Regions from separate parts of the Homo sapiens genome. Here regions 2 and 3 are each linked to region 1. The links are contacts of gene promoters, found by promoter capture Hi-C in blood cells and fetal thymus (Javierre and others, 2016). All regions are on one chromosome and are shown on one strand. Each heading gives the region's core, a stretch centred on a gene start or on the middle of the fragment in contact. The rest is flanking DNA. Distances are from core to core; before and after follow the strand shown.

Evidence for each region. The method cuts DNA at HindIII sites, captures the fragments that hold promoters and counts their contacts. A CHiCAGO score of 5 or more calls a contact.
Region 2: a fragment that was not itself captured here is called in contact with the fragment with the promoter of LNCSRLR in region 1 in 2 of 17 cell types (M1 macrophages and M2 macrophages); the score reaches 5.6 in M1 macrophages.
Region 3: a contact is called between a fragment that was not itself captured here and the fragment with the promoter of LNCSRLR in region 1, in 4 of 17 cell types (M2 macrophages, neutrophils, monocytes and 1 more). The highest score is 10.8, in M2 macrophages.

Annotation. Positions count from the first base shown.
Region 1 is chr3:146,067,235-146,071,411 of GRCh38, reverse strand. LNCSRLR (lncRNA sorafenib resistance in renal cell carcinoma associated) reads left to right here and starts at 2,227. Exons shown (of 2, transcript NR_146297.1): 1 at 2,227-2,593. PLOD2 (procollagen-lysine,2-oxoglutarate 5-dioxygenase 2) reads left to right here. Exons shown (of 20, transcript NM_182943.3): 18 at 1-135; 19 at 245-370; 20 at 540-1,972. The coding sequence ends at 695. The HindIII fragment of the contact is 7,145 bases long and covers 1-4,177 here.
Region 2 is chr3:146,618,100-146,622,276 of GRCh38, reverse strand. No RefSeq gene overlaps it. Among named protein-coding and RNA genes, the nearest start is that of PLSCR5, 15 kb to the right of the region's middle. The HindIII fragment of the contact is 4,176 bases long and covers 43-4,177 here.
Region 3 is chr3:146,598,149-146,602,325 of GRCh38, reverse strand. It overlaps PLSCR5 (phospholipid scramblase family member 5), which reads left to right. Exons shown (of 8, transcript NM_001085420.2): 2 at 1,863-2,038. Among named protein-coding and RNA genes, the nearest start is that of PLSCR5, 5.1 kb to the left of the region's middle. The HindIII fragment of the contact is 6,456 bases long and covers 1-4,177 here.

The DNA.
Region 1 (4,177 bases), core at 978-3,477:
TCTGGTGGTTATGAAAATGTCCCAACTGATGATATCCACATGAAGCAAGTTGATCTGGAGAATGTATGGCTTCATTTTATCCGGGAGTTCATTGCACCAGTTACACTGAAGGTCTTTGCAGGCTATTATACGAAGGTAGTTATCCTCTCACCCCTCCAGCCTATTTCTTACCCATTTTTACACAGGTGTTCTTTTTAATGTTTTTATTAATAAGCAAATCCACTGGCTTACTTTGCTTTTTCAGGGATTTGCACTACTGAATTTTGTAGTAAAATACTCCCCTGAACGACAGCGTTCTCTTCGTCCTCATCATGATGCTTCTACATTTACCATAAACATTGCACTTAATAACGTGGGAGAAGACTTTCAGGTAATTATGACTCTTGTGTTTTTAGATTTTTCAAAAGAAATATATCATTATGAAAAGGACTTTGCCTTAGGCCTTAGTTTCTTTTTTAAATTTTGCTCAAATGACATAATTTGAATTTTGCCACTGGTTAAATATAATCTGATGTATTTCTTCATTTTAACTTTTTTAGGGAGGTGGTTGCAAATTTCTAAGGTACAATTGCTCTATTGAGTCACCACGAAAAGGCTGGAGCTTCATGCATCCTGGGAGACTCACACATTTGCATGAAGGACTTCCTGTTAAAAATGGAACAAGATACATTGCAGTGTCATTTATAGATCCCTAAGTTATTTACTTTTCATTGAATTGAAATTTATTTTGGATGAATGACTGGCATGAACACGTCTTTGAAGTTGTGGCTGAGAAGATGAGAGGAATATTTAAATAACATCAACAGAACAACTTCACTTTGGGCCAAACATTTGAAAAACTTTTTATAAAAAATTGTTTGATATTTCTTAATGTCTGCTCTGAGCCTTAAAACACAGATTGAAGAAGAAAAGAAAGAAAAAACTTAAATATTTATTTCTATGCTTTGTTGCCTCTGAGAATAATGACAATTTATGAATTTGTGTTTCAAATTGATAAAATATTTAGGTACAAATAACAAGACTAATAATATTTTCTTATTTAAAAAAAGCATGGGAAGATTTTTATTTATCAAAATATAGAGGAAATGTAGACAAAATGGATATAAATGAAAATTACCATGTTGTAAAACCTTGAAAATCAGATTCTAACTGGATTTGTATGCAACTAAGTATTTTTCTGAACACCTATGCAGGTCTTATTTACAGTAGTTACTAAGGGAACACACAAAGAATTACACAACGTTTTCCTCAAGAAAATGGTACAAAACACAACCGAGGAGCGTATACAGTTGAAAACATTTTTGTTTTGATTGGAAGGCAGATTATTTTATATTAGTATTAAAAATCAAACCCTATGTTTCTTTCAGATGAATCTTCCAAAGTGGATTATATTAAGCAGGTATTAGATTTAGGAAAACCTTTCCATTTCTTAAAGTATTATCAAGTGTCAAGATCAGCAAGTGTCCTTAAGTCAAACAGGTTTTTTTTGTTGTTGTTTTTGCTTTGTTTCCTTTTTTAGAAAGTTCTAGAAAATAGGAAAACGAAAAATTTCATTGAGATGAGTAGTGCATTTAATTATTTTTTAAAAAACTTTTTAAGTACTTGAATTTTATATCAGGAAAACAAAGTTGTTGAGCCTTGCTTCTTCCGTTTTGCCCTTTGTCTCGCTCCTTATTCTTTTTTTGGGGGGAGGGTTATTTGCTTTTTTATCTTCCTGGCATAATTTCCATTTTATTCTTCTGAGTGTCTATGTTAACTTCCCTCTATCCCGCTTATAAAAAAATTCTCCAACAAAAATACTTGTTGACTTGATGTTTTATCACTTCTCTAAGTAAGGTTGAAATATCCTTATTGTAGCTACTGTTTTTAATGTAAAGGTTAAACTTGAAAAGAAATTCTTAATCACGGTGCCAAAATTCATTTTCTAACACCATGTGTTAGAAAATTATAAAAAATAAAATAATTTTAGAAAGTTTTGTTGTTCTATTATTGGTGTTTATCTTCCAACGTGAATACATGATGGAATTGTCTGAAAGAATGAAGCCTTTGATTTTTCATTTTGCTTAGTAGATTTAATGATATACGAAACTATTGAATTATAAATGAAATTATAAAATCTTCAATTTTAGGATGACTAGGGATTTGATCTAACTCGTTTTCCAAGTGAGAAAATAGAAGCCAAATGTTATTCAATATAGGTTTATTTGTTTATTAATATTTTCTGGGTCTCTATTATGGGTCAGGCACTGTTCCAGGCACCAAGGATATGTTGATGAAGAAGACATTATAGTCACTGTGAGATGGACTTAAAAAGATAAGGAAGTTGGTTCTACTCCTGTTCTCTTCTTTGGCGACACTTAATACCCAAAGAAAATTTCTACTATCCATCAACTAGGATAAGGAGACATTTTAGTAATGATTTGTGAATTATGTTACTGTACATCAGGAATGGTTTTCAAAATATGTAACACCTGGTATGATGTAGATGCCAACTCATCGGAACAGACTCTGGTTATAAAAGCAGATCGGTTCGTTCCTACCAGTGCAAGCCAGCTTAATATCTCTTGTGGTACAGTTCAAAGACATCTCCCAGGTACTAGTTATTTTCCATTTTGGTATCCATGGGTGGTTACTTAGCATAACTATTTCAGTCTCATGCCATGTTTTCAGAAATGGGATCCAGGTAGTCTATTGAGCACAGTTTTTTTGTCTTTCCTCTTATCCTACATTCCATGAAATAATATAAAATGTAGCTTTAAAAAGATGATTCATAATTACTGAGAGAAAATTAGAAAAATTCCCATAAGTAGATTAAAAAATTTGAAAAACGGAAAACGAGTAGAATTGGAAGGATGGAGAAAAATACAGCTTGAAACACACAGAGCAGAAGATACAGAAAGTACATCTATTGTTTGATTCATTCATTTTATGCAATATAATAAAGGCTTTTTAAAAAAAATACACACACACACCCATATATATAAACAATTATCCCCTGAATAATATGGGCGTTAGAGGCACTGATCCCCATGCAGTCGAAAATCCACATGTACCTTTTGACTCCCTCAACACTTATCAACTAATAACCTACTGTTGACTGGAAGCCTCACTGATAACATAAACAGCTGATGAACATTTATTTTATATGTTATATGCATTATACACTGTATTGTTACAATAAGCTAGAGAAAACGTTATTTAAAAAATTATAAAGAAAGATAAAATATATTTACTATTCATTAAGTGGAAGTGGATCATCATAAAGGTTTTCATCCTTGTTGTCTTCGCGCTGAGTAGGCTGAGAAGGAAGGGGAAGAGGAAGGGTGTCTCAGGGGTGGCAGAGACAGAAAAAACCGGCATACACATGAGCCCGCGTAGTTTAAGCACATGTAGTCCAAGGGCTTATTGTGTATCTGCAACAATCAGATATCTCTGACAGATGAACCTGATAAAGTCACACTATTTAGAGTATGATACCATTTATGTTAAAAACAAAATACTATATATGTGTGCATAAACCTACAGAAAATTTCCTAGAGAGGAACAACTCTGGAGAGTGGTATGAGATCACGGAGGAGTAAATAGGATTTATGCCTTTTACGTTTTACACTTGTGTTTTTGAAATATTATAGAAATATATTTGTATATTGATTGTTTAAAGAAAAAAAGACTAGAAGGAAAAGGAGACATTCACGTAACTAATTTGAATAAATGGAAGCATATGGATGTCAATAGTAACCGTGTGTGTGTGCGCATGTGTGTGTATGTGTATACATACATTACCAAGGTGCTTTAAATGCTCACCGTGGTAGAATTTTTTCTAATTCTTAATGCGCATAGGAATCAATATGAATATTTTCCTTAATATAGATACTTCAGTAGTCATCCAGTGCATTAATCTTCATTCTGCTTCATCTTTGAAAACACTAGTAATTTATCTGTATTGGTAACTTAACTAAGAGGTCAAATATCCTTCTATGGAATAGAAATGTGGAAAACAATGAACATATGAGTTGAGTGGTCCATCCTCGTCACAGAATCTCTTTATGTACTCACTTCTGTTTTCCTGTCTGACATACGTATGTCTTGATTTATTTGCTTTTTATGCCCTAAAGCCCATTTTACATGACATGCTGGTAACTTGTCATTCATTTGGAATTTGGAATGGTTATTCAAC
Region 2 (4,177 bases), core at 881-3,380, 550 kb before region 1:
TTCAGAACAAAGTTGCATGAAAGAAAAAAGTACAAGTAAGCTTAAGCTACTAAATATAAGCCACTAAAGGGAAAATATTCTCAGCATTAAGGTCAAATTAATTCTGTTTTCAGATAATCAATTGCTCAAAATCATGAGTGTGCTTGTTTCTCCACCTTGAACTGCAAATCTAGTTATATATAATTTTAAATGGAAGATAATTAAAAATAATCATATAGTCATCAATATATTATACACAAATATAGCATTATTTATGTTAAACTTTCAATGAATTTATTAATCCTAGGAAAAACTGATAATGAGAATGAAATCACAGCTTCAGAAAGGTAACCTTGGTAACAGTTTGGCTTGGTTTCCATGGTTACAAAGAGTACACTGAAAGACTCAAAGAATCACAATTTCCTTTGATTGGTATATTCTCAAAAATGATGATTTGGAAAGTGACAGAGGATTAAAAAAAGAAAACATATTTTTCTCATGAGGAATGAGACATTGGAAGTAATAATAGCATATTGATGGTTGGACACAAGACAGACCTTTGAAAATTAATGAAACTTTTGCTTCTTCATTAAAATATTGGGTAGAATATCTCCATTTTTAACAGTATGAATCTGCAGACAAAAATTCTTGCTCCTGATTAACTAGCTAAAGTATATTAGATTGTTTATAATCTACTTTAAATATTAGCTTAAAAATCTATTACTTAACTTACCTTGTGAATGAACCCAGACTAAAATACATATTTTTTAAATTTCTGTATTATTTTATGGAGTTTAATAGACAAAAAACTATGTTGTAATAGAAAGCATAGTAAGAAGAGCATTTAGAAAACTAGAGTTGGGTGTATCTCTGTAGCTAGTTGCATAATTTAGGTACATCATTTTAGTTGCAAATTGCTTTTCTTCTCACCAAGTAACTAGCAGTACGCACTATCAAAAATAACACAAAAACTGAAAAACTACCTAAGCTACTGATTAGGAAACACTATTCTGCATGATTTTAATAATGTCCTGCATGCCTTGAATCCCATGATTTTAAAACATTTTCTTTCAACTTGAAACATAAACTTGAAGAGATGCGTAGACAGTCCAGGTAAAAATTGTGGACAAAGCTCTATATACTTTAGTCCCCCAAGCCTCAGAAGACTCAGGAAAAATATTCAACAATCTTCAGGGCTTTTTCTCAGAAGGAAGAATGTTCAAAAGAAAAAGAAGAAGAAGAAGAAGAAGGATTGAACGATCTTTCCCAGAGTTAACTTGGAAAAGCAAAGCAATTGAAGACTAAGCATTAAAAAAAAAAAAATGCAAATCCTCTGAGAGAGGGGAAGAAGGTGAAATGAGTGCACTAAAGGCCATTGATTTAGCTGGGATCGTAACGCCAACCTCAGTCCCCTCTACTATGCAGTGCCTTAAACCTTCAAATTCTAACCTCATAGTCAATAGATCAGTCATTCTTGAAATTTTGTGATCAAAAGCAACAGTTTCTACTTGTGTTTCATTCCAGTGTGAGGAGACAGTGTGGAAATGGCTACGGGAAGAAGTGATGAGAGAATTACCTAGGCTAACCGCCTCAGGAGCAAAGGTGGGCTCCAGGGTCCACTTTATTTTGAATGCAAGAGCGCCCACCACAGAACAGAAGCAGCTGCACAGCCAACTTAGTATATTGAGACTTGATACAATATATTTCACAAAAAAATGGAAAAAGAAGCACAGAAAACACATCCTTTATATAAAATATCACAGAACCTAGGTTGAATTCTCCTCTTGAAACTTTGTGGTCTTAGGCTACGTAAAAGTAATGCAATGTGAAATAGCAGTGTTAAACTGAAGCTCTGTGAATTTTAAATTAGGTTGAAAAATTTACCCACACTGCATCATAACAATTAGAAGACCATGATATAGAAAAAAGAAAGCAGCATGTCAATACTGCAAATATACCATTATAAAAGGAAGGAATAAAAAAGAAAGAAAGAAACAGATAAAAGAAAGAGAGGAAGGAAAGAGGAAGACGAATGACCAAGGAGGTAGGAAGGAATAATGGACTACAAAAATGAAATAAAAAATCAACTCTAGAAGAAAAATATTACCTAATGAAATAAAGAAAAATATTGCACTGTTTCTTGGCAAAGAACTTACAGAAAACACATTCAAGGTATCAGTATACTAAGTTTACAATAATAAAATAGCAGATTAAAGTGAAAATACAGAGCTAAGAGCAAAACTGAAGGGGAAATAACAGTATTAAAGAACTAAAAAATAATTGGAAAATAACAGGTAAAGTAAGTAACCTAGATAATATTAAATAACATAAGTAGAACAGATAACACAGCCTTGCGGCCATAAAGTGAATGCAGAGAAACAAGACCAAGTGATTAAAGTAACTAGAAAAAAAAAAAACTATAGACAAAGAGCAGGGAATAAAAGTAAAACCTAAAATCCAGAATAACCTTGTATGCTAAGTAGAGAACACAATCGATGGGACAAAAAAGTTTCTTAAGAAAAAAATCTAACATATAGTAGTCCACCTCTTGAGATTCAAGGGTAAAGATAGACTTCTTCAGTCATGTAAGCAGTAAAAGCAAGACATTTATGAGGTGGAGAATGCATATTGTCTTCAGACATCCACATAAATATTCAGAGACTATAGAACAGTCTACAGTGTAACAGGACATGAAATGTAAACAAAGAATGCTATACTCAACCAATCTGCCAAGCAAGTATAAAGGCAACAGAAATTTTCAGATACACCTGAATTAAGAAAATATGAACCCATGAACCCTTCATGAAAACACAGCATCATGACAAATATAACCACCAATGATATGGTAATGTTGTGGTTAAAAGGCTAATGATAAACTCTAAAAATTCTATATGTAAGACTTAGACTTAAATGTTGTTAAGAAATATGATTGTGGAAAACAACTTTTGACTTTATTAAATATGCATGATCAGTTTGTAAGGTTGAGGCTCTAAAAGAATACAAATAAAACATTTAGCTTCCAAGCCAAGAAAGAAAAAGAAAATAAGGAGGAAGAATTAATAAAACTTTATCAATTCAAAAGGAGACAATGTGACTTTTTTAAATGAATCAGGAAAATAATATGCAACATATAAAATAAGATGGTAGAAATAAGCCCAAATAAATCAGAAATTGAAATAAATATAAAAGTAATATACATATTATATACTTGTCTACTGGAATATGTATATTACCAGATTGGATGGTTTTTTAAAAATCAGCTATATTTATTTTACATTTAAAATTTTGGGGGGCATATGATCTAGAAATTGAGTTAATCACAAACCTGTTTAATTCAACATTATCAGAACCATCTCTTATTTAGGTATTGCTTTACACTAATGTACTTGATGCATGTATTGGTGTGTATCTTGAAATAGCTTTAAGATTGTTTTATGTTGTGTGTTTCAACTATTTTGTTGTCATCTTGAGAATTAACTGTAGGGAACAGGGGCAGAAATGAGAAGTTTGTTTATGAGATGACTGCAATAACACAGGCAACAAAATATTACGACTGGACTAGGATGGAAGTCGTAGAGTGCTGAGAACTGGTTGGAGTCTTTATGTATTTTGAAGGAAGAGCCAAGGGATTCTGTATGTAAAATATATGGTATATGATTTTTTTTTCTATGAACTCTGCAGAGAAGTAAAAATATAAGGTATGAGATAAAGAGGGGAGTCACCAATGGCCACAAGATTTGGCCTAACTGGAGAGATACAGTTGGCATGGACTTGGTGGGTAAAGCAGATTAGGAGTTCAGTTTTCATCCTGTTGAGTTTGAAGTGTTATTATACAAGTAAAGAATGCAAAACAGAAGCCTGAGCTAGAGATATAAATTGGAACAGTCAACATGTATAGTTTATTTAAAGCCACGAGACTAGACGAGATAACCCAGGAAGTGAATATATAGATAAAGGGATTAAGGAAGAAGACTGAGGCACTACAAAATAGATGTCTGAAAGAAGAGGCGTTGCCAGCAAAACAGACTGAGAAAGAATGATCAGTAAAACCAATAATATGTGGCATGCTAAAAGCCTATTGAGGAAAGTGTGTCAAGAAGGAGGTTGTGATCAACTGTGTCAGGTGTTGTCAGTAGGTCAAACAAGAGGAGACACAAAAATTAATCATTGGACTCAAGGACAGGGAGATTATTATTAA
Region 3 (4,177 bases), core at 929-3,428, 530 kb before region 1:
TTTTAATATTTTTGCATCATTATTGTTATATTAATGGCCATTAGCTCTTCTCCCAAATCTGACATAGTGTTACATAGTCTTTCTCTGGCTTTACTTCTTAGGATCCTATTGAGGAGCCATTCTCAAGAGCAGGGGAAGGTCTAAAGCCTATATCCTTTGTATCTGCCCCAGATGTGTGAGAAGTTCAGGGTGGGGGTACTTGCGGAAACCAAACTGCTATAGTATTATCAGTAGGAAGCTGTATTTTAGTAGGGCCATTTGACAAGTTATTCCATTTGGTCCTAACCATAAAGCATGTCTACATTCTAAATATCACAGACCAGTACAAACTTAATGGCCCTACACTAATAATAATGAACTCAGTTTATTCGTACAACCTTAAGGTTAAATAAATAAATGAATGAATTTACTTCATGAATAAATAAATGAATGAATGAATGCAGAATATGCTTGAGTTTTCTTAATGATGAGAAATTTACTATCACCAAAGGAAACCCAATTCATTTTTAGAATTTATTTTTCACAGATTTAAAAGATAAAGATGTTTCTTCACCACCCCCCTGCCCCACACACAAACATTCATGAATTTGAGAGTCATTGCTGAAGTGAGAACATTGTAATTTGCTGCTAATTATATGGATTCCGCTTCAATTTTGGTATATGAGTAATGAGAATACTTATTCAAATCTTTGTGTAGCTGTTATAAATTTCCTACTTGTTGTCAATGCAGAAGCAATTTCCTTGTCCCTCTCTTTTGTATGTCTTTAGGACAATCTGATTTACTTGTCTTCATAACGGCCCTTCTCATATTTGAAAATACCTGTCACAAACCTTGCTTCACATCTATACCCAATCTAAAACAGCATAATGTGGATAAACTAACTGAATGCACTTGTGAAATCTCTAACACTTTGTTGATTACTAAACATGAGAAGTAAAAACACTGATATTCTTTGAAAAAAAAATTATATCTAATGAGAGAGATATCCAAGTGGTAGTTATGTGAGAAGAAAAAAATAGTAGAAAGGCTATCATTTATATTTTTAAACAAAACGACTTTTGCATATACCACCTTATTAGGGGTTATACATAAAATTACACAGAGTAATGCAAAGTAAATAACAAACCCCCAAATTTCAAAATAAAAGATGATTAAAATGGTAACATATTTACCTGGCAATAATATAGAAAACAGATGTCTTCTCTAAAAATTTTAGTCAAACTTTATAGAATTCTTTGATTATGATATCTTTTATATTTTGTAATATTGGGTGAGCTACAAAAGGATGCATAGCTTCAAACTATTATTGGTTATATAAATATAGACTTATACAAATATAAATATATAAAAATAAGTATATATATAAATATATAGACATGTATTACTGCATATCTATTCAAGTAACATCGATTTGTATGTATATACCTATATATAGTTATATAATATATAATTTATATATGTATAAAGTAACCGATAATTACTCTCCACATTTTGGTTCATATATGTATATAATATATAATTTATGTATGCATATAAATATATATGCAGTAAGTATATATATGCAAGTAATTATATATATACAGATACATATACACATATGCATATTTTTTTCTAAAGTCTTTTATTTTGGCTAAATTCAACTTTTTCTCACAACTACTACCAGCAGTCTTCTGCGTTTCGTTTTTTCTAACTTAGGGGACAAGTAATAATGGCAGTGAGTAGTGAAAAGAAGGAAAAGGGCATTAAAATGAGAGGCAGGAGATAAACTATCCTATCAATCAAGAAGTAACAAATACTTTAAGAAGGACTAAATAAAATGGCCTAAATTTAAATATGGATTGGGATTTCCATTCTCTTGCAGATGCCCAGAACCAAAGAAGAGGTCTGCCTGGTTTTCTTCCTGGAGCTCCAGACCCAGACCAAAGCCTTCCTGCCTCTTCCAATCCAGGGAACCAAGCATGGCAGCTGAGTCTCCCTCTGCCAAGCAGTTTCCTGCCAACAGTCAGTCTCCCTCCTGGTCTAGAATATTTAAGCCAGGTGTTTTTATCTTTCTATTACTACAGATATGTTCTACCCTTAAAATTAATACAAACTTTCTTTCTGGCTTTTCAATCAAGGTTGAAAGAATTTAACCAATAATTTACTGAAATGAAAAAAGCATTATAAATCATAAAATTATAAAATATTAACTTTATTTATTTCTACTATTTTTAAAAGTGTATCTTATTACTACTTTTATCTTCCTTATTTATTTGACAGAATGATGAGACTAAATATTTTTGATGGAGCTGTTTAGCATATTTATCCACTTGTTCATTGTTCAAGGTGTCAGTAAATTTTTGCTCAAGAAATTGTCTAATATGCCAGGCACGGTGGCTCACGCCTGTAATCCCAGCATTTTGGGAGCCCATGGCATGTGGATAAGCCAGGAGTTCCAGACCAGGCTGCGCAACATGATACAACCCTGTCTCTATAAAAATTATCAGGGCATGGTGACATTTGCCTGTGGTCCTAGCTACTCGGGATGCTGAGGTGGGAGGATCACCTGAGCCCAGGAAGGTCAAGGCTACAATGAGCTGTGATCTCACCATTGCACTCCAGACTGGGTGACAGAGTGAGACTTGCCTTGGAAAAAAAAAAAAAAAGAAAAGAAAAGAAATTTTCTAACATATCTAGTCATCTACAGCTATTTATTTAAAGAATATTTGTCGAGTGCTTGCTATACTAGAGACATATAAAAAGCACGAAACCTAGCCCCTCTTACCCAAAAGTTCTGCAACCTAATTGGCAAGACAAAAAAAAAAAAAAAAGTTAATGCAAAGTGCAAGCCTGTGTACAAATGACTGATAAACACACTATTGTAATTTGTGCAGGTGTATAGAGGAGAGAGAGGTTGTTAAGGATCAAAGTACTAGAGAGACTTCAACAATGAGCTGAGTTCAATGTCTTCAACTGAATCTCAAAAGGAGGACACAAATCCAAGACAAAGCGGTTATAAAGTGAACATTGTCTGCTGATACCACTGCATCTCCAGGCCAATTTGCTTAAAAGAGCATATTGCTATTGGGTATAGTCACTGTTCTAGTCATTGTAAAGTAGGCAGGATTCAAGCCTTATAATAAATCAATCAAAATATCACTATCTGAATTTTATGGCATATAAAATTCAGCTATTGCTATTCATGTATGTATATTATTGTTGCTTTTGTATTTTATCCTAAAAAGGATTAGAAGTACAATTACACTAATATTGAGATGTCAGCACATCTGCTGCAATTTTCAGCTTGTTTGGCATTCTTTCAAACTATAAAGTCTATCTCCTTTATCAAAATCAAATCTCTGTGTTAATTCCCTTAAGGTACAAGAGATTTCTGTTATGCCTGATAGGGTTTAAGCTGCACGCAGCATATGTTCCTGGGAAAATGTTTATAATTGCAGATGTCTTCTCCAGAAACCCACTGGCAGACAAATGTACTTTAGAGACTGGAGAGCTCAGGGAGATATGTAAAAGAGCTGGAAACGCAAACCTACCATCTTCCATCTGCAGAAAGGATCAGCTGTAATAGCTGACTAGAGTTGATTAACTGCTGCAAGCTGTTTGGGAATGTTGTCAGACAAGGTTTTGCCAAGTATAAAAGTGATATACCAGTGCCAGAGGGCTGAGGTTTGATGATCACATATGGTCATCACATATTCTTCTTCCATTCATGAATGATGACACACCCGGAGCCAGATGCTTGACATGAATACATTTTTGTTGTGTTCAATAAGTAGAGATATGAGCCCATTGGCTTTGGTTCTAAAATGGAATAAATTTTCCAAAAATATACCTTTGTTAATCATTCCAAGAAAAGAAAAATATGCCACCAATTGTTGAATATTCTACTTCTAAAGGGAAAGGTAATTTCCTCACTTTATACTAAAAGAACATTTATTTACTTTACTTTAAAGCAGTGCACATATAAAAGGATGAATGAGCACTTCCAAACTGTTATGCCATGAGTCTGGAAGAGACACAATATAAAATGAATTTTTAGATGCCAACTTTTCCCTAAAAGCCACAAAAATCAAACAAAATAATGAACATTTGGAAATAGTACATTAATCAATGAATAAACAGGAAATATACAATTAATATGTTCTAAATTTAAAAATTTAAATAAAATATTTTAACATC